Linked DNA regions of Homo sapiens: all the other regions are linked to region 7. The links are contacts of gene promoters, found by promoter capture Hi-C in blood cells and fetal thymus (Javierre and others, 2016). All regions are on one chromosome and are shown on one strand. The core of a region is centred on a gene start or on the middle of the fragment in contact, and the rest is flanking DNA. Distances in the headings are between cores, read along the strand shown.

Region 1 (3,849 bases), core at 458-2,957, 510 kb after region 7:
GCTTTATCATGTTTACTTATAAGGAAAATGGCTAAAAAGTAGAATTCAGGTTCTTGGGTTAGTATTCAAAAGAGAAACTGATGTCTTCTGAGAAGTTTAACGTATCAGCAAAAACATCTACAAGGCAAATTATTATTGCCATGTCATGGCATTATAATAATAGTAATTCTCTAAAAATGATAAAATTTGCTTATAGAAAGAATATGCAGTGATGTGATGTGATATTGGAAACATATCCTGGTTACTTAAAAATAAAAATAATTCTTTTTGCCATGTAAACACACCAAACACATTAAAATCAAGGTAATTGATGGCCCTGTCTGAGAATTTTTGTTTCATATTGTTTACAACTATAGCATTTCATACCTTATGAAATTGAAATATGTAATTTCTCTAAAGGAAGGTGGTTATAATTACATGATGAGACACTGTGAATAAAAATTGTGTAATTATTTGTAATCCCACAAAGTGAATTATTCAATTAGATGTTTCCACATAATGCTGAGCTCAAGAAGGAGTCACCTAATTTGTGCAGCCTGTTTCTCCATTTTCTCAGCCTTCTTATGTGCTTTAGAAGCCTGAGTCAACCAATTAAGTTTGGGATCTCAGGCATTTTTTGCTGAGATCTCATAAATAAATAACTGTCCTTTATTTCTTTTCCCCTGTCCTTTTCCTGTTGTCACCAACCCATGTTTTATAACAGCCACTTCCCTTTAACATTCTTACTCTATGGCCTGTAATGCGCGCACCCTTAATAACCACTTAGTTACTGATGGCCTGCTTCATACAGTAGCTTTATACATATTTCATACATTTTGTGCATTCCTTTAAGTGATTTTTACATCTTCAAGAGATAATCCATTCCACTGCTAAACTATAATAATGATGTCAAATGACACTTTCCAGTGGAAGGAGATTGTATTTATGGAAATTTTTATTGAAAGCTTTTACTTTCCAAAATACTAAAATTTAAATCATGTAAAGGAAGATGTATAATAAATTTAGCTTGATTTTTAATGATAATGTGTCTTATTCTCTGTAGTTGTCTTCTTTATGCTGCACGTCTCTTGTCCATCTGTTCTCCATTTTGTGATGGTGATCCAGGTGGTTCTTCAGTACATGAGTACATGAGACTGCAGGCATTTATAGATGGAGAAGAGCACATGGTAGTCCTATTACCATAATCAGGTTTTGATAGAGAAGAGCACATGGTAGTCCTATTACAGTAATCAGATTTTATGTTGGTTTCAAAGTGAGAAGAGTGTTTTGAAATGCCAAAAGCAATTTCATCCTATAAAAAGACCAAATTGCTATTGAAAACTTTCCTTAGGCAGCAATTAAGCACATTTTTTTTTTTTCCTGGAAGTGATTTTGGTTCAGAGCATAAAAAGAAAGTTAATGATTTGGGGAAAATTTTTCCTAACTCAACATGTCTGTGATAAAACAGTGGGTTTACTGATAGCAGAAAATCATATGATGCAGGGTTTTGAAAATTAATCCTCACTACCATACACAGTGTTTGGCCTATTGGCTAGTAAATTATAGCTTCTGGCTTTTTCTATACTTTTAGCTCTTATAAAATGCAAAATGGCATACACCTGGCTTTTAAAAGCAGTAGTTAATCAAGCACTTGAAATTAATGCTAGCACTCAAAATAATTATGTTTACTTTATCCTAAGTTTTAAATCTTATAGTTTTCAAATATATATAAATAAATTAGTGACACTATTATTGAAATCATATATTTATTTCTTATAAAGAAATGTATGGAAAATGTATTGTTCAATGAGTGTGTTCAGTTCGTTTTGGGAGAACATTTCTGCATGAGAGAATTGCTAATTGTTTTGGGAGAAGACAGTTCTGCATGAGACAATAGTAATCTTGTTTCCAAAATTTTATTACCTTGGGCAAACCATGAATTATTATTGTGCCACTGTTTTTTGAAATCATGTTCAATAATCTGAAGTCAATGTATTTAATCAGAAGTAGTATGAAATGAAGTTTCTTGAATGAAGTGTTTCAAAACAAAATGATATAAATTTTTTATAGCAATATTTTGAAGATAATTTGGTGTATTTTTAAATTTAATATTGCATTGATATTACTGGACTCATTTCTATTTTATTGACACACAAAAAAAATCTTAACATGAAAAGCCTTTCTTTATTCTTAAACCATCATAAATATTTCAAATATATAACCTACTGGTTCTTTTTAAGAAGAAAATAAATTCATGGCACTAGATTTTGGAGGGAGCAGACCAAAGCAACATACCACAAGCATGAGACTTATATAAAAGTTTTTATGATGTGTATCCTGGAAAAAATGTAATTCTACCTGAGAATATATCAGTGTACTTTTACATACCAAAACATAAATAGCATTTATATTTCTTATCTATTAAATAACATACTTTCCCCCAAAACTCCAGGTAAAATTGAAAGAAAGGTCTGCTTAGTTATCTTCTAAGGAAGCTTATATTTTTTCTCACGTTTACAACTAATCTTACGTTTTGCAGCAGTTAGTGCCATATTAGTACCGATTTTTAAAGCTGTTTTACCTGTATAAGATTATAATTTAAACTCCATGCCTTTTTACTTGCATGAGCAACTTCCAGGGCCCTTGCAGAGGACCTAGCAATGTATTCTCATGTACTTGTATTTTCAATACAATGTACCAAAGTAAGTTATTTCAACAAAAATCACTTGAGATTATTGTCTCTTTACTCCAACTTCAATGTCAAGTGGCTTTGAAGTAGTCATGGGCATTTTTGGAATCTGCCTAAGGGCATGTTTGAGATATATCTTGTCGGAGTTTAGTGCAATATCTTTTTATTTACATTTGTAGTCACTTCTGTGCATAGTTAACTTATTGCTCATGGTCTCCTCCTAGCAAAGGTTTCTAGAAGTGCTGTGCCAACTTGTTCAGCATTGTGGCAGGGAGGTACAAAGCCAAAGAGCATATTGCAGTGCAGTATGAAAGACTTGTTTTATGTCATGAAATGTATTAAGCTACTTATTGATGTCTGTAAAAGTCTTTCCATTGGCTGACACTTAGGTCAAAACAAATTTATCCTCTTCAGATATATACTCAACCCTAAAATCCTAGAGCTAAATAATCGTTTATAAACATTTCTTTCATCTGTGCTAAAAGATAACTTCAACTATTTCTCTACAGAGCTAATACAAAAACACTATTATATAAAAAGGTAATGATGTTTACACCAAAAATAGTGGGACAAAATGTATCCTACGATTGTGTCTGGCTGATAATTAAGTTAAAAACACATTTTTATTATTTTTCTGGATTTTTGTAATGTACGTACTATATGTCAGTTTGTTATAATATGTTATTTTTTGTGATTTAGTTTCCCATTTTATATAAATTTTCATTTTCATGCAGTAACTCAATTCATAATGTTTTATTTTTAAACAGAATCCCACAAATTATGTAAGCTCCAGGCCTCACAAAACTGAATCTGCCTCAATTTATAAATAATAATTAATTTATATTTATCTTGGTTATTTTATGATTTAGATCATGTAAGTAACAAAATCAAACTTGCATCTGTGATAATCTAAGCTAATAAATCTTCAAAACCATCACAAAAGATAGCACTTAATTCTAATAAAAAATAACAACTACCAGTTACCAGGTACTTTTCAAACACTTTTGTCCATTTTAACTTAATTATTAATTTCTGTAAGCTCATAAGGAAGATTCAATAATTATATTAACTCTATTAAATAAATAAAATTGATGCATAGAGAGGATCAGAGATTTGCCCAAGCTTGTATAGTGAAAATTTGAATCCAGGCAGCTTGATTCCAGCATCTGTACTCCTAACCA
Region 2 (3,479 bases), core at 741-3,240, 330 kb after region 7:
TTGCAATTTCCAGTTCAATCAATTTTATATGCTACCATTCTGAACTCCATACTATAACCCCAATATGATTGTGTGTAATTACAGAGGGATTCTGAAAAATTCCTGTAAATATTACTTCTATCTAGATTATAACATCATATTGATCAACTTCTTGTTTTGTTTTACTCAGAGCTTTAGAGAAAATGTGCATGGCTTTAGAGACAAACCTCTTCATGTAAAATCTAGCAGCTATATAATTTTGAATGGCCAAATTCCTCAACTCTTTGGAGCTTTTAAAGAGTTGCCATATTGTACAACCTCACAGAGCACCGTTTACATGGACTCCAGTATAAATGACACTTTCCAGAGGGGCTACATGGTGGTTATAATATTTGTATCAACTATAAGTAACAAGACATTTAACAGGGTATATCCTGTTGTCTAAAAATCTTATACAAATTCCTGCAACTGAGAATAATAGCTGATAACTGCTTGACGTCTACTAAACTCACCCATTCAGAACATATTAGATAGCAGTACTAGTGTGCCTATCATCAACCTCCAATTCAAATTCAAACTATGTCAAAGAAGACTAGAAATTAGGAGATCATTTTATCACAGTAAGAGTGTTTTAGATTTCTTCTCTCCCCATGAGGTTGTAGGAGTATATTCTACAGTTGCATAAAGTCAAAAGGTATGGTACAAGAGAATTTCTTATAAGTATGGGCTTTCAAGAAGGGAACACTCTTATCTTACTGCCTGCCTTAGTACAGAAACCAGAGACAAATGCTATGAAAGGTCTTTTTGGCAAAATGGACATGCATTCCATAAAAACATTGAGCTAACCAAGAATACAGAGACTGCTGGCTGCTTTCTACCTGAGAAGTTCTTTAAATAGAGGTTGCTTGGAGCTGCGTCTAACAGCATGGCAAAGAGAAAGGGCACTGGCAGCAGCAACCTTCACAGCCATCTTCTGGCGTGGCAAGGATGAATGAGTATTCCATGGAGCCAAGTGAAAACAAAAAGGTCATTTCAAGCCATATTTATCTAAGAAGGTTTCTGTTGAACTGCAAAGACTTTAGCATTAGAGGCCGTAGTTCTGCTAGGGACAGAAAGTGAGTAGTTTCAAGAACTGAGCCAAGGAATGACACATCCATGTTAGAAAAGACAGCAGTGAGGAAATCCTTGATGGCCTTATAAGGACCTAAACATTTACTATATAAGAGTTAGTATTTGGACACTTCTTTTAGTAGAACACAGAGTAGCTAGGTAATGTTAACTAGGAGACCAGAGCAGCATAAGTAAAAATATCTGAATCTCTAGGTCTCCAGATTCTCCTTATTTTTGCTCTGACTCTGGAAGTAGAGTGGGGCATGGGGGCCTGAGTCTAGAAGAGTGAGAGACAATTTTATGTCCCTCCTTTTCTTATAGGAGGGTGTCTATAAACAGGAGTCAGACTTGGACTGAAGGAATCAAATTTGTTTTTACTAGATATAAAGTTGAAGTTTTAAATTCATATTAGATTAAATATTTTAGTTCTTTAAAAAATGAGTTCATGAATCAAACTATATCGCTGAATGATATCTTTATAAAATAAATGCTGAACCATATCATTATTAAACGTCTATTTTCACTGAAATAAGTATGATGTAAATCTGGGTGGACTCCCAAGTCGATTTCAACTTACTAGAATGATATTATATATTTATGAGATAGAGACGCCATCCCTATCTGGCTTGTCATTAGTTCTTTATTATTTCCTAATAAAATTTCTGGAAGTTTCTAAATAAACATATATTAAAAATAAGTAGTTTATTAAATATCTTTTTTGTACTTATCAGTCTCATATGTATACAAAATAAAGTACCTAAAAGAATAAGAGACTATTCACAAGTAATTTACATTTGATTAACAGAAAAAAGCAGATACAATTTAATAAATGTGTCAATAATTTAACATATACTTTAAAATATACGATTTAAAATATATGATTTAATAAACTAGTATAGGTCATAAGATACTTTCTTTTTCAAAGTAAATTAGTTATGCATGAACAATCAACCAAAAATATTAAGGATAATGTAACACTAAAAATCTGAGAAGCCCATATGAATATTCTTGTAGTCATATCTCTGCCCTTGAAAAAGCAAGTAAAGCATCTTAAGATAATAAATATTCTTTTAGGTTTTGCATAGAAAATATTTATGTTTTCTTTCTGATTCTCTTTTGCTTCATTTTTTGTCATGATATCATTCTCCATTAAACAGAAGATCCACGGTATACTTGAGGTCAGTTTCCTCTAAAGATTTCTTTTTTTTTTTGAAATGTTTTTAAAATGATCTATCATGCAAAGACATTTTAAGAGTTTACTATTAATCAGATTGAATTTTAGAAAATATAAACCTTTATGCTCATATTATAAAAAAATTTCACAGTAAATCAAAAGTGAACATACTTTCTTTTAGAAAGTAAAATAAAGATAGAATCCAAATTTCAAACTCAACTACTAGAAAAAAACCAACAAATTCTAATTTCGGGGGAACACTTAGAATATTTTATATTTAAACAATGAACAAATAAGATAGCTTTCCAACTCTAGCAGGAGTTACATATCTAAATTATTTATAGAAAAATTAAATATGATTTCTAAGCAAAATAATCTATCCACAAGGGATGGCACAAAAATAATTAATCTTTATTTCAGAATTTTACTCATATTTTTGAATATACAATTTGTTCCATTTGGAGTAGAAATGTTTGGATGGGCCACCTTGGCAGCAAGAAAACAGTTGCATATATTCCCTTCTGGAAGAAATTACAAATGGAATAACTTCCTTTTAAGAAAAAGCAAAACTATAATTCTTTATAAGATGATAGAAAATTATTTAAAAAATCAAAGTAACTTATCATTTGCCTGTGCTATATGTGTGATATTTGTAGTTGGTATTTGAAAAAGAACATGAGAAGGGAGAGGAAGAGAGAGAGACAGAATGAGGGAGAAAGTTCGGGGAGAAGGAAGGAGGGAGGCAGACAGAGATAGAAGGAGGAAGAAAAGCAGGAGAAAGGATAGAAGAAGGAAGGAAACTGAGTAATTTATATTACAAGGGAACAACAACAACAACAAAACACTATGCCAAATCCAATGGCTAAGCATGTGATATAAAATTTTGGTACAAAATATGTGGTATAGAGGTTACATGCTTCTTTAGAATGTAAGTACCTCAATGGCATAGACCATAAACGGCACAATTTTTGTTTGTTTGTTTGTTTGTTTGTTTGTTTGAGATGGAGTCTCGCTCTTTCACGCAGGCTGGAGTCCAGTGGCGCGATCTCAGCTCACTGCAAGCTCCGCCTCCCGGGTTCACGCCATTCTCCTGCGTCAGCCTCCCCAGTAGCTGGGACTACAGGGGCCCAACACCACGCCTGGCTAATTTTTTTGTATTTTTAGTAGAGACGGGGTTTCACCGTGTTAGCCAGGATGGTCTTGATCTCCTGACCTC
Region 3 (3,837 bases), core at 229-2,728, 390 kb after region 7:
GCGTAATATCAGAAAAAAATATATAAGCAAATTTCTTTCCATGTGACCAGTTTAAGAAATCATAAACTCTGAAAAGCCAAAATGCATTCAAAAGAAAAGACAATTTAGAAAGAAAATTCAGGCATCTATTATCTCTATCTTAGATTTAAAAATAAACCGTGAATGACAAAACTAGACATTCTCTCTGTACTGTTACTGAGAAATAAAAAAGCTGAGCTAACGCATACTCAAAAATACAGATGCCAATTTATGTAAAACACTGTCTGACAAAAAGAAAGTGAAAAAGAAAGTGAGTTTAAAAGTTGATTTACTGTGTGTTTATTCTAAACGTAAAAAAATAAAAACAAATGAAACCATAATAATTTTGTTTGTAATGTTACCTTAACTAAAACCCTTCACAGTTTACATATGCAAGATCATTATTTTATCAAAACTTGTAATTACAAAATAAACTTTGAACTTGTACAGTCTGCATCTTCCAAAAATACTTTTTAAGCCTATCTTTATTCTAATGAAGAATCATTGACAATAATCAGAAGATGGCCTGATGGAATTTATCATATGTATTCTGTATATTTTCTTCAGTCTTAACATGTTCAGTCTTAACAGTTTCTCTCTCTCATTAAAAAGGATTGAATTTTAAAAGGCAGGACATTTTAAAAATTACTTTAAACCAGTTAATACTCATTGTATGCATGTATATGGCTGAGGGTCACGGTAGTTGGATTCCCAAGGCTCATAAGGATGTTTTAGGCATGTATAAGCAGAAGCATAACACATCATTCATTGCCAGTGGTACACTCCTGTGTGTGCTCTTGAGTCAGAATAATCTGAATAATCTGTGTTCAAATTTGTGCCCTATGATTTATAAACTGTGTTTTCTTCATTTACATCTAAAGTCTCAGTTTTCTCCTCTATAAAATAATACCTATGTCATGTTGTTTTGTAATGATTGAATGTAATAATTCACAAAATAATCTACTTAATATAGTTCCTAGAATATAATGCACACTAAATTCATATAAGTTGTTTTTGTTATTGGATTTTTCTTCTTATTATCAAATATAGTGAAAATCACAGACCCAGTCCTTTCCACATTTTAAATGGTTGAATTACAAGTCATTAATCTAATTGGAAAACAAATAAGACTTAGTAAAAAAAAGAGGAATGAGTTGAGTTCAACCAATTTATTAGCATTTGATCTTTTGCAATTTACTTAATTTCTCCAATAATTGTAAACTAGAAATAATAATAATAACTTGACTCATAGCATGAATGAGAAATATTGTGGTGGTGCTTAAGATACTAAAGGACACATAACAGAGACTCCGTTATTGGTAAGTTTCTCTCTCTTTTAAAAGTTTATTCAATTCTATACCTGACAAAGAGACTGTTTTTTCCTGTAAGTGATAAAAAATTTTGAGGTAAAACTTGGTCTCATGTACATCAAGCGCCAAATGTCATTTTGAAAAACAAATAATTGGGAAGGATAGACCGGCTTATGAGTATTTTTAAAATTCTAATACAAATACAGTTTCCCAAAAAAATAAACTATGAAGCCTTTATAGAAATAATAGCTATATTGTACACATGCTTTTGAAATTTTCCTTAAATTCACAATGAGACTGAAACTGGGGTATGAGCCTAAGGTTCTCAAACCCCATTTTGTTCACAAAATTTTTATGCTTAAAGCATTGGACAAATAAAATTTGCATCAGTGATTCTGATTCATAACATTCACATTCATAGCCTTAATTGGTTGGATTTTACTCAAAAGTTAAAGTTGCTTGATAAGGATTTTAGCTTAGGGAAGTTTTTTACAATTCACATTACTCCATTCAAATAATTTCTCTTTAGGCTTTTGGATGGGTTTGGAGAGACAAGGAAAGAAAGATCACCAATTATGTATTCCACCCATGGCAACGGGGAATTTATTTGGGAATTTATAGAACAAAACAATGATTATCTTAAACAAATGAAGATTTAATACAGTGTTTAAAAATGTGTTGGTTCATGTTCTAATTGGAAAATAAAATTTGCAATTAGCAAAATTATATTTCCATTTAGACACTACAAAATAAGACATATCCAAGTGTACCCAGGGAATCTTTCTTTTGATTATTTCTTTTGCAAATCCATTAAGCTCATACAACCTTTGCAAATAATGTGACTGATAATTTATGATGTCTATGCTTTAATTATTAGATAAATGGGCAGATTAAAAAAATAAATTACTCCAGCTAAACTTTATTTGACAAGTATGTTCAATTTATACTGTAGTACTTTTAGTCTAATTTATATATGTTATTTTTTACACATATATAATATAATTAATTATAAACACTTGACTATATTTTTCAAAAAAAATTGATTGAGTTTGTACTGCAGATTTGTGTGATTGAAAAGTGTAGTTTCACAATGTGTACCTAAAATGAAAATAATGTTTGGAAAAAATAATTACTTTGAAAAATTTCTTAATTCTTAAAGTATTGAGATTATACATGTCACTTGCCAATAACATTACATCATGCTGAGGTGGGCTTGACGTAGTTGTAGACCTGGACCACGTAACTAAAGTTACATGGTCCTTGAGTCATTGAGTCATTGAGTATAATGGCAGTGAGAGTCTCTCTCTCTCTCATTCTGTTGCACCCTTGCTCGCTCTTGCTGTTAATCTCTGCTGATTCCATATAGTTAAATGTGTGATTGTTATATTTCCACAGTAACAGATATAGTACCATGTTTTTGTATGTGTGTGCTATTCTAGTCCGTACTGAAAGGTTACAAATCAGAGTTTAAACCAAATTTCAGAAAGCAAGGTATAATCTAAATGTAGCTTTAAACATAAACATGTATGTATATACACACATATATATATACATGTGTGTATATATGTGTGTATGAATATATACACATATAGCTTTCTTCTCTTCCCAAAAGTCCTAGCCCTGATTTTGACACTTTTAATGTGCTGCAGAAAGCTGAAAGTGTATGAATAGTGATAAGATTTGTGTTTTTAACTTTATAAAACATTAGGTGGTTTATAGTTAGGTTTTTAACCTTTTGAAAAATTTAACCTTTTTTAAAGTGCTGAATTAGTGCACTGTAAGATTAAAAGAAAACATAAAACGTATTAACTCTTGAAATCTAATATATGACTTGACCAAATGATGATAATATCTGTTCTAAGAACTAAGCTAGTTTGGCTTTTGTGAAACCCCTAGGTTCATATTATGCATGCAGTACCCTGTGTAACTTTTAAGGATGACTAGTCATGGAATCTATTATCTATTCCCATTGAACATGATATTCTAGCATAAATTAGATTTTTCAGATTTCATACAAGGTGAGGTTGGGTAGATGTTTAACTGTGGCAAAATATTCAAATATTCAGGTCTTTATAAAGCCCATGATAAACTATTATGAGTAAATGTACTATTTTACTAATTTTTTAAAGCAGAAATATCCTATACTTGCCTGTACTCTGGCATTAGAAGTTTTAAGAATGTTTGAAATGTAGAACTTTCTTACATAAATACTTTTTTCATCCAAAAAAATTTAATTAACATATAGAGTGTGCAATAATGAACATCAAATCAGTATCTTCACACTTGCTCCCAACTTGCTTATCTAAATTATTTTACTCAACCGAGTCTTGAGATCTTGTAACTTCTTGCTAAATGTGCGATTTTTAAAATATTCTATTTTATCTTATTTTATTGCCAAAGGTCTGCTTTGTAAGCTTCAGGTCATGTTTCCCCCCAAACTCTAGGTAAAATATATCCTTGGCTGTGTGCTTGGTTCATTGGATCTTTTAAAATTGATAACTCACTATGT
Region 4 (3,914 bases), core at 548-3,047, 450 kb after region 7:
GAATGGACAAGTTTTCTCTGAGGCCATGAAAACCACAACATCATTATTATAACAAAAATAACATTAGACAAAGGGTCTTGAGGATTGTATCTGACTTACTGTGAAGAAATTAAGACATTTTTAATCCTTAAATATTGTTTTATTATTTAATCAAATATAAGAGCATGAGAAATTCTGCCACTTAATCTTCTGATGTGATTAAGCTTAGTCTGTTTTGTGAGTGCTACCATGACAGATGATGACTAGACTTGTAGATTTTGGCTACTGATACACCTAACTGGTTTGCTGTCAGTTGAGGTGAGTTACTCTATTATATTCAGATGAGAGCTGGGTACTTAGGATTGCCACTTTTAACTACCATTTCCTCCTACTTGCAGAGGTTAAAAAGCTAAAACACAAAATTTCCCAGAGTCCTTTCCTGGTTCTAAATGTAAAATGCGTTTTGCTCATTGGATATATTTGATGAAATTTTGGAAGGCAAAAATGAGGTTACACTTAGCTTCCTGTGGCTCTTGACTATCACAGCAAGCTAGCAGTATAGATTTATGGGGCTTCCCCACAGTGGTATTCTAATGTCCCCTCCCCAGCTTCCTAAGTATAATAGATACTTACAGAATGATAGTGGTTGTTTCTTGCTCTCAGTATAGCCTCAGAAGAGTAACTGCTATAGTGGTTCAATGCTGTATTATTTATGGAGATATTCAAGGAAGTCATGCATTCCAGGAGCCTATTTTTTTTTTTAGCAATTATAATGACTTCCTAAGCGGTTTAATTCCTTGAGTCAAATATCTTGCTGCTTAGAATGTCCAGAATGGCTTCTATTTTCTTCCCTGGTCCCTAATGGATGAACCCAGTTAAACAGAACTAAACCTCATGACATAGTAAAGAGTGAAATTTCATGTGATTGAGGAAGTACCATCACAGAGATAAAGACTATGTAGTGATATCTATGTCCACATAAAATTTTTTTTGTAAATACCATGTGTTAAATATATTAGCAAAAGTGAGAGAAGCAAGGTCCAAGATAAAAACCCTTGGCTTGTGTTTATTTTTGAAGGACTTAATAGAGTTAGATGGATTTGGTGACTGGGAAAGAGATGACACTAACCTTTGGGCATATGTGTATGCTGGACTTTAAACCATGATCCTTTCTGTTGACCTTAAAAAAATAACATAATGTCCTTTTTTGAAAAGAAGGGGGGTACTTAAATTTTACCTGACTTTGATTTTTTTAAAAAAATGTAAAAATACAAGATATACCTACACACTCTATGTTCAATTCCTAGCTCCCATTTAATGATCTTCAATTCAGAGTAATATTCTGAGGGAAAAAAACATTTTCCACACTGGGCACTCATGTTTCTTTGATGAATGAAGGAAAGCTGTTATTACAGCCAATGAATGTGCATCCTGGACCCCATAAATTCCTGACACTTCCATCAATACCCAGAAAACACGGTTTATCAACAGATTGTAATTTTAGGAGCAATTCATAGACTCTAGAAGATGAGAGTTTAAATGACACTAGACAACACCTGATTTTCTGAATATTAGCTCTTTGTTAGCTTATTTTTTAATGAGTTTTAAAACAGTACCAAGTCTTACTGGCATTATCATCTGGAATTCATTAAATATAACATGTATGCAAGAACTTTTTTAAAGTTACACATTTTTCAGTTTTAGTAAGTGGTGAAAAAGCTGACTCTTAGAATATATTTCCAATCATGTTATTTTATTTTTGCAGTAAAATATGGATTATTTCCCATGTTCACTCAACAGCTCACAGTGACTTTTGAAATTATGAATGGCATACAAAAACAGTCTCTTGCTCTTTTGTGTTGCAGCTGTTACCACTATCTCTGTTTATAGGACTCTATGCATTTTTCATAATCTTTACTCTTAAATAGTGATTTGCATGGCACAAAAATGTACAAATTAAAATAAATTAAATGGCATAGAAATCCCTCAAAGATACAAAGTTTTTAAATGAAGTCCAGTTATTTTCAGATATCCTGAAGATGCAGTTATAAGAACAATGATCATTAAAACATTCATTGTGCTAAACATACAGTGAATAAAGAGAAAATACACCAAAAACACATCTTTAATTTCTTTAGAAGCAAGAATAAAAATTTTATGAAAAATAAAAATACGGTGATGGAAGTGGCCTGGGCTTGGATGTTGAGAAGTATATTTCTGCTATTTACTGCTCTACTGAATATAACTTCTATGCTTGCTTAGAGTTTGAAAAAGTATGCATGTTGTTGACTTACTGATTATTTAGTACAATGCTTCTCTTAGTGCAGCATTGTCACTGGTGACCTCTTTGTCCTAAAATTAAGAAGATATTAAAATAGATATTTTTACTTAATTTGAATTTTTAATATCTGCCTCTGTCAAGCTGCTTCAATGCCTGCCAAAGAGGAATGGAAATGAATAAATTCTAAAAATATTTCTCTTCCATTGGCCTGAAACATTCCTTTGAGACAGAATTGAAAGTTTTAGGGGTTCCTCTTCTATCACAGAGGTGATCTGTTCATACAGTGAGTTGAATGACTAATGCATTAATGTCTGGAAGACAGACAATGGAGATTTTAGCAGAGCTAGCATGTTCCCTCTGCAACCCCCATGCACTCACACTCCCCCAACACACACACTCACTTTTATAAAAGCACCTATCATTTCAAGTTCATGTGGTAATTGTTTACCAGGAATTGCCTTCACTTAAGGGAACAGAAGAAACAAAGAAAAAAAATTATCTGGCAAGAAGGTACATATGCCATTTATCCCTCTTTCTGTTGCTCTTTGTAGACATTCGAAGGATAATACGATCAAACAAATGCTTTATCTTCTATGCCAAAATTTCTCCAAGGAAATATTTCATTCGGCATATGGCTTTGACTTATCCTGTCAACCACCTCTCTTCTCCCACAATTTTTCCTTCTTTATTTCTTTTTTACATTAATATATTACACAAGGGAGTAATATTTTCACAAAGGAATCAAGCCAGGATTTAGAGCTCTTTCCTTAGGCTACTAATCATTTCACAAAATTAATTGATAGTTGCTGATGATTTTTCTCACCACTACTTAACCATTTGCAAGCGGTTTTCTACCCCCTCCCTAATCTGAAAAATATTTCTATCTTCAAAGTCAACAGTGTCTTTCCAATGGCTAATAACAAAGATTTTCTCTCTGCGTTCAATAATGTCACCCACTTATTAAAAATTTTGTTTCTGTGTTTATTTATGCAATATTATGTATTTAGGCTCTTTTTCTACTTTCCTTTCTTTTCTGTCTCCCAGCTTTCTCTTTTCCTGGTGTGTTTTCCACCATTCCTAAAGGTGTTCACCCAAAGTGTGTATCTCTCTTTGTCTTTTTACTCTTTATGATAAGCTTCTGTGATTTCATCATCATAATTTTGAGAGGAATCTAAAATTATACACTTAGTATTAGTCTTTTCTCTCCAGGTCAAACATATGAATTTAAAAATGGGTATGATAACTCTGCACGAATGATGAGGTATCTCAAATCCAGTATGCACTAAACCAAACTCAACATTGTCACTTCTTATGGCAGGCAGAATTTTAACTGTGACCAACATCTCCACTTTCCTGTCTGCACATCTTGCATAATCGCTGGGACTGTGAATATATGAGGAATTTTACTCCATGACTCAGTTATATTTTATGGTGTATTTGACATTAACAAAAAGAGATTACCCAGATAAGCCTAACCTAATAACACCAAAAACTTTAAATCCGAGTCTAGAGGTCAGAGACAGAGAAAGTCAGAGATATGGGCATGAGAGGGATTCAAAGCAGGGAAGAGTCTTTGTATCTGACTTTGAATATGGAGGGTAACAGCATGACAAGGAATGAAGGCAGCCTTTCAGTGCTGAGTGGTCCCAGCAAC
Region 5 (3,538 bases), core at 561-3,060, 370 kb after region 7:
TCTCACCATTCATTATAACTAAATTTTCTTTGTAATTATTTATTTGTCTTTATAAGTCTTCCTTCAATAACTTACAATTTGCTTGAGGGCAAATGTGTTGTTTTATTCACCACAGTAGCCTTAGGACCTAGCAGGTGTCTCATATTACTATCCCCAATAAATATATATTGATAAATGAATTTATAAATAAGTATCTACTGAATATTTTTTCTTTATTAGTTCTCTAATTATCCTTATCCTCCATTTTGAGTTTGATCTTCATATCCTTTATTAGACACTGCTCTTTTACCTACAATAACATGCATTCTCTCCCTCCTAAGTAACAAATATACTCAAAGTAACAAGACTTGCAGCTACAGGTTGGTTTTGTTTGGCCTCTCTGTGGCTATATGACTAGAAATGGCTTTGTGACTATTCCTATCCAATGATAAGTAAGTGGAAGTGTCTAGGAGTAGTTCGAGGAAGTCTTCTTAAAAAGAAGATAGTAGGCTTTCTTCACCCTTTTTGCTTTTTGATGCTGGAACACAAGTGTAATGACTCAATTTCCATCAGCCATGTTAGGACACAAAATGACTTCTAAAATGAAGGCCATGAACAAGACGGTGAAGTAGCAAGATAAAAAGAACCTGTGTTTATGACATAACTAAATCATTATATTATCTCTGAACTAAATTTCTCAGAAATTAATTGGAGAGATAAACAAAGAACACTGAATTCTCATAGAAACTACTATAATCATACAAACTGCTCCTATTTCTTATCAAATATAGCATAACCCAATATTAACCAATATTGTTTCCACCATTTCTTGCTGTTCCAACTTTATTTTCCAAGGTCATTTTATTTCCTCTCATGGTCACCATTTGTTTCTATTATGCACTGTATCTTCAGCCTGATCTTCTAAATCAATTACTGATTAAGGATTTCTCAGGGCCCAATACCGTCTTCTTGGGGGACTTGTACAGGTTTTGAGCCTCTCCAAATATCAAAGCCCGGTATATCTGCATGTGGTTATTGTCTTCTGTTTCTGAAGCCTCTTTCAGTTGTATTCCAGAAATAGCGCAAGTTCTCCAAGCCAAAAAAAGCTCTTCCTTTATCTTGGAGATAAGGAAAAATTACAAACAGACCCCTTTAGCAGATTTGTCTGTAGAATGTATTTCTTTTATTCTGGGTTTAGCGTTTTTCTGATATATGTCACTGGGATTCATGACTACATGGAAATATCAGGCATCTGTATAATTCACTTTGTGAAGTTTGAGACTTTGTCCACTTCATAAGATACTTGCCCCAAAATATGATGGTGTAGGTAGCTCCCTGGCATCACAGGTGTGGAATGGAAATCACTTATACGTATGAAATTCTGTATAGTTTACAAAGTTTGCCATTAATTATCTGATTGCAGCCTCACAAAACTTAGTGAGGAAAGAACCAGCATTACTACTTATATATTGCACAAAAAAGGATTGAGACTCAGGGAACTTGCCCAAAGAAAATAAGAATAATTAAATTCGACACAGGTGTTTTTAATGCCAAGTCCTATGATCCTTCATTTTAACATTTCTTTGGACCTCTACTGAGCAAAATTTGAACTTGGAATACATTTATTATGAGGGCATTAGTAAAATCTTTCATTTTAATATCAACAGGAAATTATTAATCCCCAAATACCTTTTGCCTGGTTTAATCTTGAATATGGACTAAGTCATGTTGCAGTAAATGATGGGCTAAAGATTTCAGTAGCTTAAAACCACAAAAGTTTATTTACTGATGCCTTTTAATACATACCCTGAGTAGATAAGCTGGAGTAATATGTTAAGTCAGTCAGAGACACAGGCTGATGGAAGCATCGTCTTGATTCACGTGTCCACAATCACTGTCTCAGTTCTTGCTACAGGGCCCTGTACTAATAAATGCTTCCACCTGAAAGTGACTGTCTTCATTGATGCTCATATTTTACTGGTCAACACAAGTCACATGGCCCCAAGGAATGTGTGTTAGTTTCCTAGGGCTGCTGTAAGTAATTACCATTAACTTAGTAGGTTAAAATAACAACAACAACAACAACAACAAATGCTTTCACAGTTATGGAAGGCAGAAATCTAAAATCAAGGTGTGAGCAGGGCCATTCTCTCTGAAGCCTCTAAAGAGAATCTTTCCTTGTCTCCTCTAGTTTCTAGTGGCTCCAGGTGCTTCTTAGCTTGTGGCTGCATAACTTCAGTATCTGCCAGTGTCTTCGCATGACCTTCTCTTCTGTTTGCTAAAAGATACTTATAATTGGACTTAGGAGGATGGATGCAACCAGATAATCCAAGATTATCTTATATTAGTATGTGTCTTGTTGGGATAAACCCTAAATATTCACTTGCCATTTGAGTTTAATTTCTGCTGCTTTTGCAGGGCTCATATAATTTGGCTTCAATTTGGGTGACTGATGGTATCCTAGTTTCCCTTTTGGAATGGAAGTCAATACTTTCCCTGCCTCTGCACCCCCTCCCACCACTCTACTTAAGGCCAACCCACATATTTCCATATTTCCGTATCTCTATATTTCCATATCTCTTATATATGGGACATCGTAGGCAGAATTCTAAGATGGTACCCAAGATTACTGCTCCTTGATTTACATAGTCTATGTAATCTCCTTCCCTTGAATGTAGCAAAATCTATGAAAATGATGAGATGTCACTCCCATGATTATGCCCTGGTATATGGCAGATGTTGTTTTAAAGATATAACATTCTTAATCAGTTGATACTGAGTTATTGAAAAAGGAGGTTATTCTGGGAGAATCGAACCAAATCATGTAAGCTCTTAAAAGAAGTCAGCAATTTGAAGCCAGAAACACTCACCTACTAGCTTTGAGAAAGCAACAGGCCATGTTGTTGAGACTGCCACGTGTCAGAGAATGATGGGCATCCTCTAAGAGCTGAGGAATTCAGTCCTACAACCACAAGGAAGTGAATTCTGCCAACAATTTGAATGTGCTTGGAAGTGAACCCTGAGCCCAAATGACAATTGGATTTGGCTGATACTTGGATTTCAGTTTTGTGAGATCCTGAGTAGAGAACCTCTTATGGTAAACCGGATTCTGAGCTACAGAACTGTGAGATAATAAATGAGTGTTGTTTTAAGCTGCTACATTGGCTGTAATTTGTTATATACCAATAAACAACTAATATACGGAGCATTCTACTTCTTATTGCCTAGTAATGTTTGGCTTTAGCTTCAAACAAATTAGCCACAACAGTAGCCTAAACAGTGATACTGTCACACATGTAACTCATTGACTTACTGTTTTAAAAAATGACAGCTTCCAATTTTTATCTGTGGAATTATAACCCCCTTATAAGTATTGATGCTGGCCCATGATACATCTAAATATGTCACATCCCTTTGAACACTGGTTTTTTATTCTGCCCCTGGTCATAAAGCTCACCCATGGTGTAACATTAAGCCAATTATGATCCATTCTCTGATTTCTGGTTTCTTTCTTTTTCGGAGTAATTACTGATGGGAATTCCTGTCTATTTAGCAGCAA
Region 6 (3,872 bases), core at 802-3,301, 410 kb after region 7:
CTTCAAGGTTTATCAATGCTTTCAGTAAACTCAGTACATGAGACACAATTTAGAAGCTTCTAAATCCTCTGGTACTTGTTTAAAATACCTTCCTTATTTAATAACTTTTTTTTAAAAAAACACCGCTAATTATTTTAGCTAAGAAAAATAATAAAGATTATGTAGGAAAAAAACGATTTGTAATAAATCTTTTCTTACCAGAAAAGAATCTTATTCATCTACCTATCTATTTTGTCATTTTTATTTGTAACTCTTGAAGGGAATTTTTAGTTTCTTTTCATCAAGTCACATGGGAAGTGTATAGATTGTCTGACCTCGTTCTTGTTATTCTTTATTAATTCTCTTCATAACCTAACTTACCTTTTTAATAAAGTTATTGAACACTTTACTTTCTTGAAATAAAGTATGCTATTTTACTTGAACAATATTCTTGCTTTTCTTCTGAAAAAAGGCAAATTTTGTTATATTTGTTTTCACCCTCAGATTTTTTTGAAAAAGTAAATCAAGACATTTTAGCCCACTGGTTAAATTCTTCTTACTATTCAGGACCATTACGTTGTCATCTGAATAACTGAGGACTACCTTTAATGAGGTGTGCGTGCCTGGTTGCATTAGCTGCCTAACAGATGTCTGAGTGATTAAAGCTCCCCTGAGTACCATAGCTTTGGTATTTCATTGAATCTCATTTGCTTTCTGACCTAGGAGTTCCACTGTATATTCCCAATTGATGCTTTATTTTTCCCTTTCAACTGTTAACTGGATGATCAAAGTAGTTTATAAATATCTTATTATCAAAGGTCATCTTCCTGGAGTTTGTACAAAATTATTCCTTTTATCTTTATCTCCTCTAAAAAATTCCAGTGTCAATGAAACAAATAAAAATATTTAAGAATTTTAAATACCCTATTGAGAGCAGGTGGTTATAGGCGTACCTGGTGTTTTGTTCTGAGTCCCAGAATTGTTGCAAATACAAAGTTGTGCTATTGAACAAACAGACAAAATAATCTTAAATATCTGTAAAATATAGCCAGGCTATGATTTGGAGGTGTCATTGAAATATCCCCACTTCACACAAAGAGCTGGCTTTTTGGACCTAGTTTATCTGCTTCAGAAAAAGGAAGGGGTTGGTTGACAGGATTTAAACCTGTGGCTCCAGGCAGTCTAGGCACTCTAATTTGGATTCTCAGATCACTAAGCCAAGTGTTGTAGCTCTCTGAAACTCTGTATTTATACATAGATAACGATTATACCAATCAAGTTGACATTCTAGCAATAAGAATTTCACCAAGCTTCACTTATACCTTCAAATGTGTTATTGTTTAATCTCATCATGTAAGTCAAGTTGAATGAAAGCCAGCCTTTCCTTTTTTTCCTTCCAATATCAACCATGGGTAATTTTATTTAGCTTTGTTTCTTGCATTTATAGACTCTATTCTCAAAAGACACTGGTACTAGTTTTGATGAAATACAATAATGCTGCTTTAACTATAAAAATATGGAAAGAAGTCACAGTTTTCTCTAATTGCAATAAAAATGATGTAGTATATTGAGATTGGTGTTTGTAAAGAAAAAGTTGTATAACATACATTGGGTGCAATTTTCATATTACATTAAAGGAAAAATCATTTCAAAATATAGTCTTATTTAATCCTCCTTTTCATATTCAGTTGGCTCTAAATCTATCATTCCGCATATTTGACCTATAATACAAGCTAAAGAGTAATTTTCTGGGCATCTAAAGTAGATAAATAGGAAAATATATCTAATATTTTATATTATAATTATATTATTTGAGGTTGCTGTCAATACAGACATTCCCCTCATTAACTTTATTCTTCATTTTACAAGATGTCTTAACAAGTTAATTCATTGATCATTTAATCTCTGTATAAAATTATGATAGGGAAAATGAGATAAGCATCAGGAAAGTTAAAAAAAGAATTTAATGGCAATTTGTAAAACATAAACTCAGAAACATATATAGAAATCTTCCAGTTGAAAAACATATCCATTGTTTATAAAATATAGTATTCAAAGTTTAATGTATATTGAATAAAGGTTCAATAAAAATAGCAGATAATGCTGAATACTTACTTGATATTAGCTATTTTATGTACATATATAATGTGGTAAGTGAAGTAAAACAACGCTAACCACTCGTCTGTGCTCCCAGTTATACTAGATGGCAAATTAACCTTATCTCTAGACTCTGCATAGCAGAAATTTATCAAGACATTTATATTACGATTGAACAGCTTCAAGTTTTAAGGCATTTTTAAAAGAATTTCTTCACTGAGGATGAGGCCTCAAGAAGTGACATTGCTGGCTCACTCTCCAGAGGAGGAAAAAAAGAGAAGGGTTGCACTTTGACCTTGCTGTCCTCTTTTTGAAGACTGTATACTCTGTTATTTTGATTTCTTACTGTTTAACTAAGGTGTTTATAAAATTATCTCATTTAAGGCAAATAATGGCAAGAATGTAGACATTATTTTTAATCATATGACTCCAAATTTGTCCTTATTTTTAATATTTCATTTGAATAAAAGTAAAACATTCACAGGTAAAATTAGTTGTGACATACCTTGCAACCATACTCTATGTCTCCTGTATATCATATCATACATTTCTATCATACATATTCATACATTTCTAGACAAGTTGAATCATACTAAAAAGTCAAATATACCCCACCCCAAATAAGCTGGAATAAAAGAGATTTATATTAAGTGACTAAAGATGAATTTGAAATGAGAAAATCTAAAAAAGATATTTTTGAATGGATTGTACTCCATAAATGAACAAGTTAATAAGTAGAAGCTTTCAGAATTCTCTTATGTGCAAAATATATCAATTATGGCTATTTCCTTTTAGATTTTTTACATGTCTCTCTATATAAGATATAAAAGTCACAATAATTGAGTAATGGAGGCATAGCTTTTAATTATGACAATATGTTAAAACATGAATTTCACTATAAAAATATATCTAGCTATTTATTTTGTAAGATGGTAGAGTATAAAAATAGACTGAGTTATAAAATATCTAAATTTTTATCCAGTGTATTAAAATTCACTATCAACCCACTAATCCTACCTTGCGTTTTTGAACTATGAGTTTTCCAACTTAGGTACTGTTTACTTACTGAGTTGTCAGTAACTGCATAACCTTGTATTATACATTTTTCTATTGCAAAAGCTGAATTAACACTCTAATCATGCCTTACTGCATTTTATTGAAACTCTCTAAATTAACCTTAAAGCTTATGTATGTGAATGCTTTTGATCTCATTCCTCTTTATGATTGATCCTACCATTGATTCTCTCACTATAAATCAAAAAGCAACTGGCATAATTCCAGGAGTCTTGAATAACATTTAGTATTCATTTAAGTAGAAAATAAGCTTTATACTTTATCAAGTGGTGAATTACTTCCGCTGCCTCATTGCAATGTACCATTATGCAAATGGCATTTGTGGAGTTGTGTGGTGCACAGCCTGAGCAGCTATACACACAGGCAAAAAGCAACAAAAATAATCTGTGTTGTAGAGACTCAGTGTAAATATATTCATTCCAATTCTTTATTTTTTAAAGGCATTGCTATAACTACAATAAAAACTAATACTGATTAGGACACTTACAATGTGCTTGGCATTATTCTAAGTATCTGCAATTGATTCTCTTAATCCTCATAACAATACTATGAAGCAAATATTATTATCCTAATTTTACAAAAAAGGAAATTGAGGTACAAAGAGGCTAAGCAGCCAAGGTCAAACATCTGGTAAGCGGTAAGTATCCTGAGCCTCTTTAGATTGCCTTCACAAATGGATATCATAGGATTTATATCCTTCACTTTTTTCCCTCAATTTCTTA
Region 7 (3,550 bases), core at 967-3,466:
CACCCCTGACCCGTCTTATCCGCTGGGGCGAGTCTCAGAGACTCTAAGACCCGACTGGGTTAAAGCAGTGGCCAGCTGGGGCTGATCACTCCCAACCCCGATCTTCTTGCTCATCCTCCTTGCTGTCTGGCCTCGGAGAAGGAAAAGGAGAAGGGAGGGCATCATTGGAGTGATGACATGTGTGTCTTCTTGCTCATCCTCCTTGCTATCTGGCCTCAGAGAAGAAGGAAAAGGAGAAGGAAAAGGAGAAGGAAAAGGAGAACAAAAAGGAGAAGGCAAGGCATCACTGGAGTGATGACATGTGGCTCTCTCCCTTCTCTGCCCTTCACATTTTTCTTTCCACGTGCAGAACTGGGAAGGCTCTGACCACCCCTGCCCCCGCGGTTGCCATGGTTACACAATAGCAGCAGCACCAGACCCAGGAGATGTCTCAGACCTCTCCTCTACCTCCGCCTCAACCCTTCCCTCTCTGTTAGGAGATCCTCCCCCTCGTCTCTGCGCGCCCCCACCCCGCCATCCCCCGCTAGCGCACACATGCAGGAGAACCCTTTTTAGGCTAAACCGGAAAGTTTAGGTCTTCTCCCCTCTTCTTTTGCTTGTGCAAATAGCACTAAGCTAAACGGAAAGTGGTGGGGTTTTGGTGATGAAATAAGAGTCCACGCACAGAAGCTTGCCTTTTATTACCGCTTCGCTCGAGGCGAAATCGCTGAAAGTTCGGCTATTTAACTCCTGTCCCCATAACTCGGAATCCCGGACACCAGCGGCCCCAGCTGCTGGCGCGCGGCTCTCTTCCAGTCCCCTGGATCCCAAAGCTCCCTGCCACAGCGCGGCGTCTCCTCCTCCTGTCAACTTCCCTCCTTGCACTGTGACGGAGGCAAAGCAACTCAGCCCAGGAGGTTGAACTCGAGTCATCAGAGAAGGAGAAACAGTGCCGAAAACGGCCCGTGCGCTACCAGGGTAGCCCATTAACGCATTAACTCCAGGCTCGTTGGGCAGAAGCCGGGAGGAAACACCCTGGGGACCGCACTCCTGGTTAAATGCCCAGCACGAGTCAAATCCGGCCTTTCCAAAGCGAGCCAAGCCCACTACTACAAAGAGATCCCCCGAGTGTTTTGCCTTAACCACATTTCAGACAGCCAGCTTTGTGGCTGCTGTTTGACTCCAACTTTCCCTCTAAATCTAAAAGGATGCACACTTCCATCAGACGGAACGTCGCGATTCCCCGGCGAAGAAAAAGGCGTCGCCCATTCCTCTTCCAAAACGCTACAACAAAAACCACCACGCTTCCCTTCCTTCTTCCTTGCCCCTTTCCCTTCTCCCAGACCAACAAGGAAAGGAGCGAGCGAGGGCGCAGATGCCCTTTGGTCAAGTACTCCCCGGATGTTCCCGACTAAAGCGTCTCCAAATGAACCTGCAGCCTGCGGAAGCCGGGGACACATTCATAGACGCTCTCTGCTGCCCAGACCAGGAGGGGTGGTGGGGGAACCAGGAAGCCAGGGAGAGAGCAAAGTTCCTGGACGCGTCTCAGGAGGAAAACTTTGTGCAGTGCTGCCAGGCGGAGGCTCGTCAGAAGGCTCCGCAGCTGCTGAGGCGGGGTGGGACTGCGCCCCAGGGGCCGCGCTGAAGCTGGCGCCGCGATTACTGCGCACCGATTTCGCCCACTCTCTGTCCGCTCCCGGGAGCCTTCTCTGTCTCAGGACGGTTCCTTATCTCCCAAACCATGCTCGTCCTCCACTTCGGACCCACAGCCACCCCCAAATCCCGGCTATCCCCGCTTAGCACCGCGGTCTCCAGCACACCCTCCCACTGGAGTAGCAGGTGACCCAAACCAGACTTACCTGCTGTGAACTCTTCTCTCCCTCTCTCTTTTCCTGGTGCCTTTTCAGGGAGAGGGGAACGGGATGCAGGCTGAGGTCCAGCGGCGCGGCAACCCGGGGCACCGGCGCGCGTTCCTCTGAGCCGCAGCCCTGGCTGAGCAAGCGGAGCCGCCGGCAGCCCTGGCAGAGCCGGGAAGCTGCGGCCGCAGGGGCCAGGCCGGGAGGCAGGGGGCGCTGCTGCCTCCCCCGAGAGCCGCGCTAGGACAGGCGGAGAGCAAGGCACCAGCTGGAGCTTTGGGGAGGAGAGGGTGGCGAGGAAAGGCACGCTCCAAACAGGAGGGCGGCTTTTAAGTTTGTGGTGTGACCGCAGCAGCTGTCCTGGGAGAGACTCAGTCTTTCTAAAAAGAGGATGCTGAAAACGCCGGGGATTACCTTTCCCCTTCCGATCTCCTCCCCCAGCCCTCGCCCCCTCCTTCCACTGCGCACGCCAGAACTCCCAAGCGTGCAGAAGTTCATCCCTGCTGCGCGGAGGCTGCCAGCAGCGTGGATTTAGAGGTAGCCCTGGCCAAGCGCTGACGGATGTTTATCAGGACAGGGCACCCTATGTGTAAAGCAACCTCTAACGTCTGATCTTCCTTCTGGGTGACTTGGGGACTTCTTTAGTTCCTTCTCTATACCATAAAACCTGTTAAGGGACCCCATGAGGAAGAAACAGGGAGAGTGACCACAAACACCGTCCTAAAAATGCTAATCCCACAAAACAGTACCTGCGTTCCACTATGTAAAACCTCAATCCACGGTTAATGGCCTTGACAAGGCAGGCATAGGGATGAGGAACAGGGATCAACCCTCCGTTAAGGGGCTGGCACCCGATTAAGACCAAACAGGGAGAGATAAAAACGAGTAGAATGTAATCCTTTCTTCCTCTTTCCCTTACGCCAGACCTACAAAGAGGTGTGCCTCATATCCTTGTCTTCGGGAGTTTTTTAGATTTTTGCACCCCTTATTCACACAGTAGGAACTTAGAAGTATATAATGACGAGAAGATCTAAGTTTTGATGAACCTGGATCCTATGCAATTGGAATAGAGGATCCTCTTTAAGCAAAAGTAATGCAGAAATATCTCACTTCTACAGATTCTGCAAAAATATATGACAATGAGAGTTCATGAGGCCACCGTCAGGGACATTAAAAAGGCCTGTGCATTTGGTGAGCCCTGTACGTTAGGCATTTTTAGCTGCATGGTAAATCCTTTGTGATGGGATATCCAGGTTTATAGTCACACACCTTGCCCTTAGTCCCAAACATAAATCTGACATGAGGTAGAGACATGGAAAGCAAGCAGCCACGGGATCCTGCATTTGTCAGCTTGATTTAAGAGCACAAGGTGTAGGGTCCCAAAGCTTCCTTAGCAAGTAACAAGAGATATCTTGATTTGGAGATGGTGAACAGACAAATGCAGTAATGGAATAACTGAAAGGGGTGGAAGACATTCTTCATTTGACCTTTTATCTGTGGCAGAGGGCTGAGGGCCACAGAAGCTAAAGGAGTCATTTTAAGTTATAAATGGTTGATGGCAGAGTCAGGCTAAGGAAAGGCTCAGGTTTCTCAAATCTGACCAAGGCTCTTTCTTGTGTCTCATGCTGCCCCATCTCTATAACCTTGGTTTGGACTCACAACCAATCAACCCCATAAATACCCTCTTTGGATAGAGAAAAAAATTTTAAATCCTC

What was found. Contacts are between HindIII fragments. The CHiCAGO score rates a contact against its expected background, and 5 or more counts as called.
Region 1: a contact is called between a fragment that was not itself captured here and the fragment with the promoter of SEMA3D in region 7, in 1 of 17 cell types (megakaryocytes). The highest score is 5.7, in megakaryocytes.
Region 2: a fragment that was not itself captured here is called in contact with the fragment with the promoter of SEMA3D in region 7 in 1 of 17 cell types (naive B cells); the score reaches 6.4 in naive B cells.
Region 3: a fragment that was not itself captured here is called in contact with the fragment with the promoter of SEMA3D in region 7 in 2 of 17 cell types (megakaryocytes and naive B cells); the score reaches 5.9 in megakaryocytes.
Region 4: a contact is called between a fragment that was not itself captured here and the fragment with the promoter of SEMA3D in region 7, in 1 of 17 cell types (megakaryocytes). The highest score is 5.1, in megakaryocytes.
Region 5: a fragment that was not itself captured here is called in contact with the fragment with the promoter of SEMA3D in region 7 in 4 of 17 cell types (megakaryocytes, naive B cells, total B cells and 1 more); the score reaches 25.2 in megakaryocytes.
Region 6: a fragment that was not itself captured here is called in contact with the fragment with the promoter of SEMA3D in region 7 in 1 of 17 cell types (megakaryocytes); the score reaches 5.9 in megakaryocytes.

Annotation. Positions count from the first base shown.
Region 1 is chr7:85,692,957-85,696,805 of GRCh38, forward strand. No RefSeq gene overlaps it. Among named protein-coding and RNA genes, the nearest start is that of LINC00972, 270 kb to the left of the region's middle. The HindIII fragment of the contact is 1,530 bases long and covers 943-2,472 here.
Region 2 is chr7:85,515,723-85,519,201 of GRCh38, forward strand. No RefSeq gene overlaps it. Among named protein-coding and RNA genes, the nearest start is that of LINC00972, 96 kb to the left of the region's middle. The HindIII fragment of the contact is 9,231 bases long and covers 1-3,479 here.
Region 3 is chr7:85,578,722-85,582,558 of GRCh38, forward strand. No RefSeq gene overlaps it. Among named protein-coding and RNA genes, the nearest start is that of LINC00972, 160 kb to the left of the region's middle. The HindIII fragment of the contact is 4,523 bases long and covers 1-3,740 here.
Region 4 is chr7:85,637,881-85,641,794 of GRCh38, forward strand. No RefSeq gene overlaps it. Among named protein-coding and RNA genes, the nearest start is that of LINC00972, 220 kb to the left of the region's middle. The HindIII fragment of the contact is 3,192 bases long and covers 202-3,393 here.
Region 5 is chr7:85,557,440-85,560,977 of GRCh38, forward strand. No RefSeq gene overlaps it. Among named protein-coding and RNA genes, the nearest start is that of LINC00972, 140 kb to the left of the region's middle. The HindIII fragment of the contact is 5,073 bases long and covers 1-3,538 here.
Region 6 is chr7:85,596,390-85,600,261 of GRCh38, forward strand. No RefSeq gene overlaps it. Among named protein-coding and RNA genes, the nearest start is that of LINC00972, 180 kb to the left of the region's middle. The HindIII fragment of the contact is 1,528 bases long and covers 1,288-2,815 here.
Region 7 is chr7:85,184,840-85,188,389 of GRCh38, forward strand. SEMA3D (semaphorin 3D) reads right to left here and starts at 2,217. Exons shown (of 19, transcript NM_001384900.1): 1 at 1,839-2,217. RefSeq lists a silencer at 2,029-2,088. The HindIII fragment of the contact is 2,551 bases long and covers 668-3,218 here.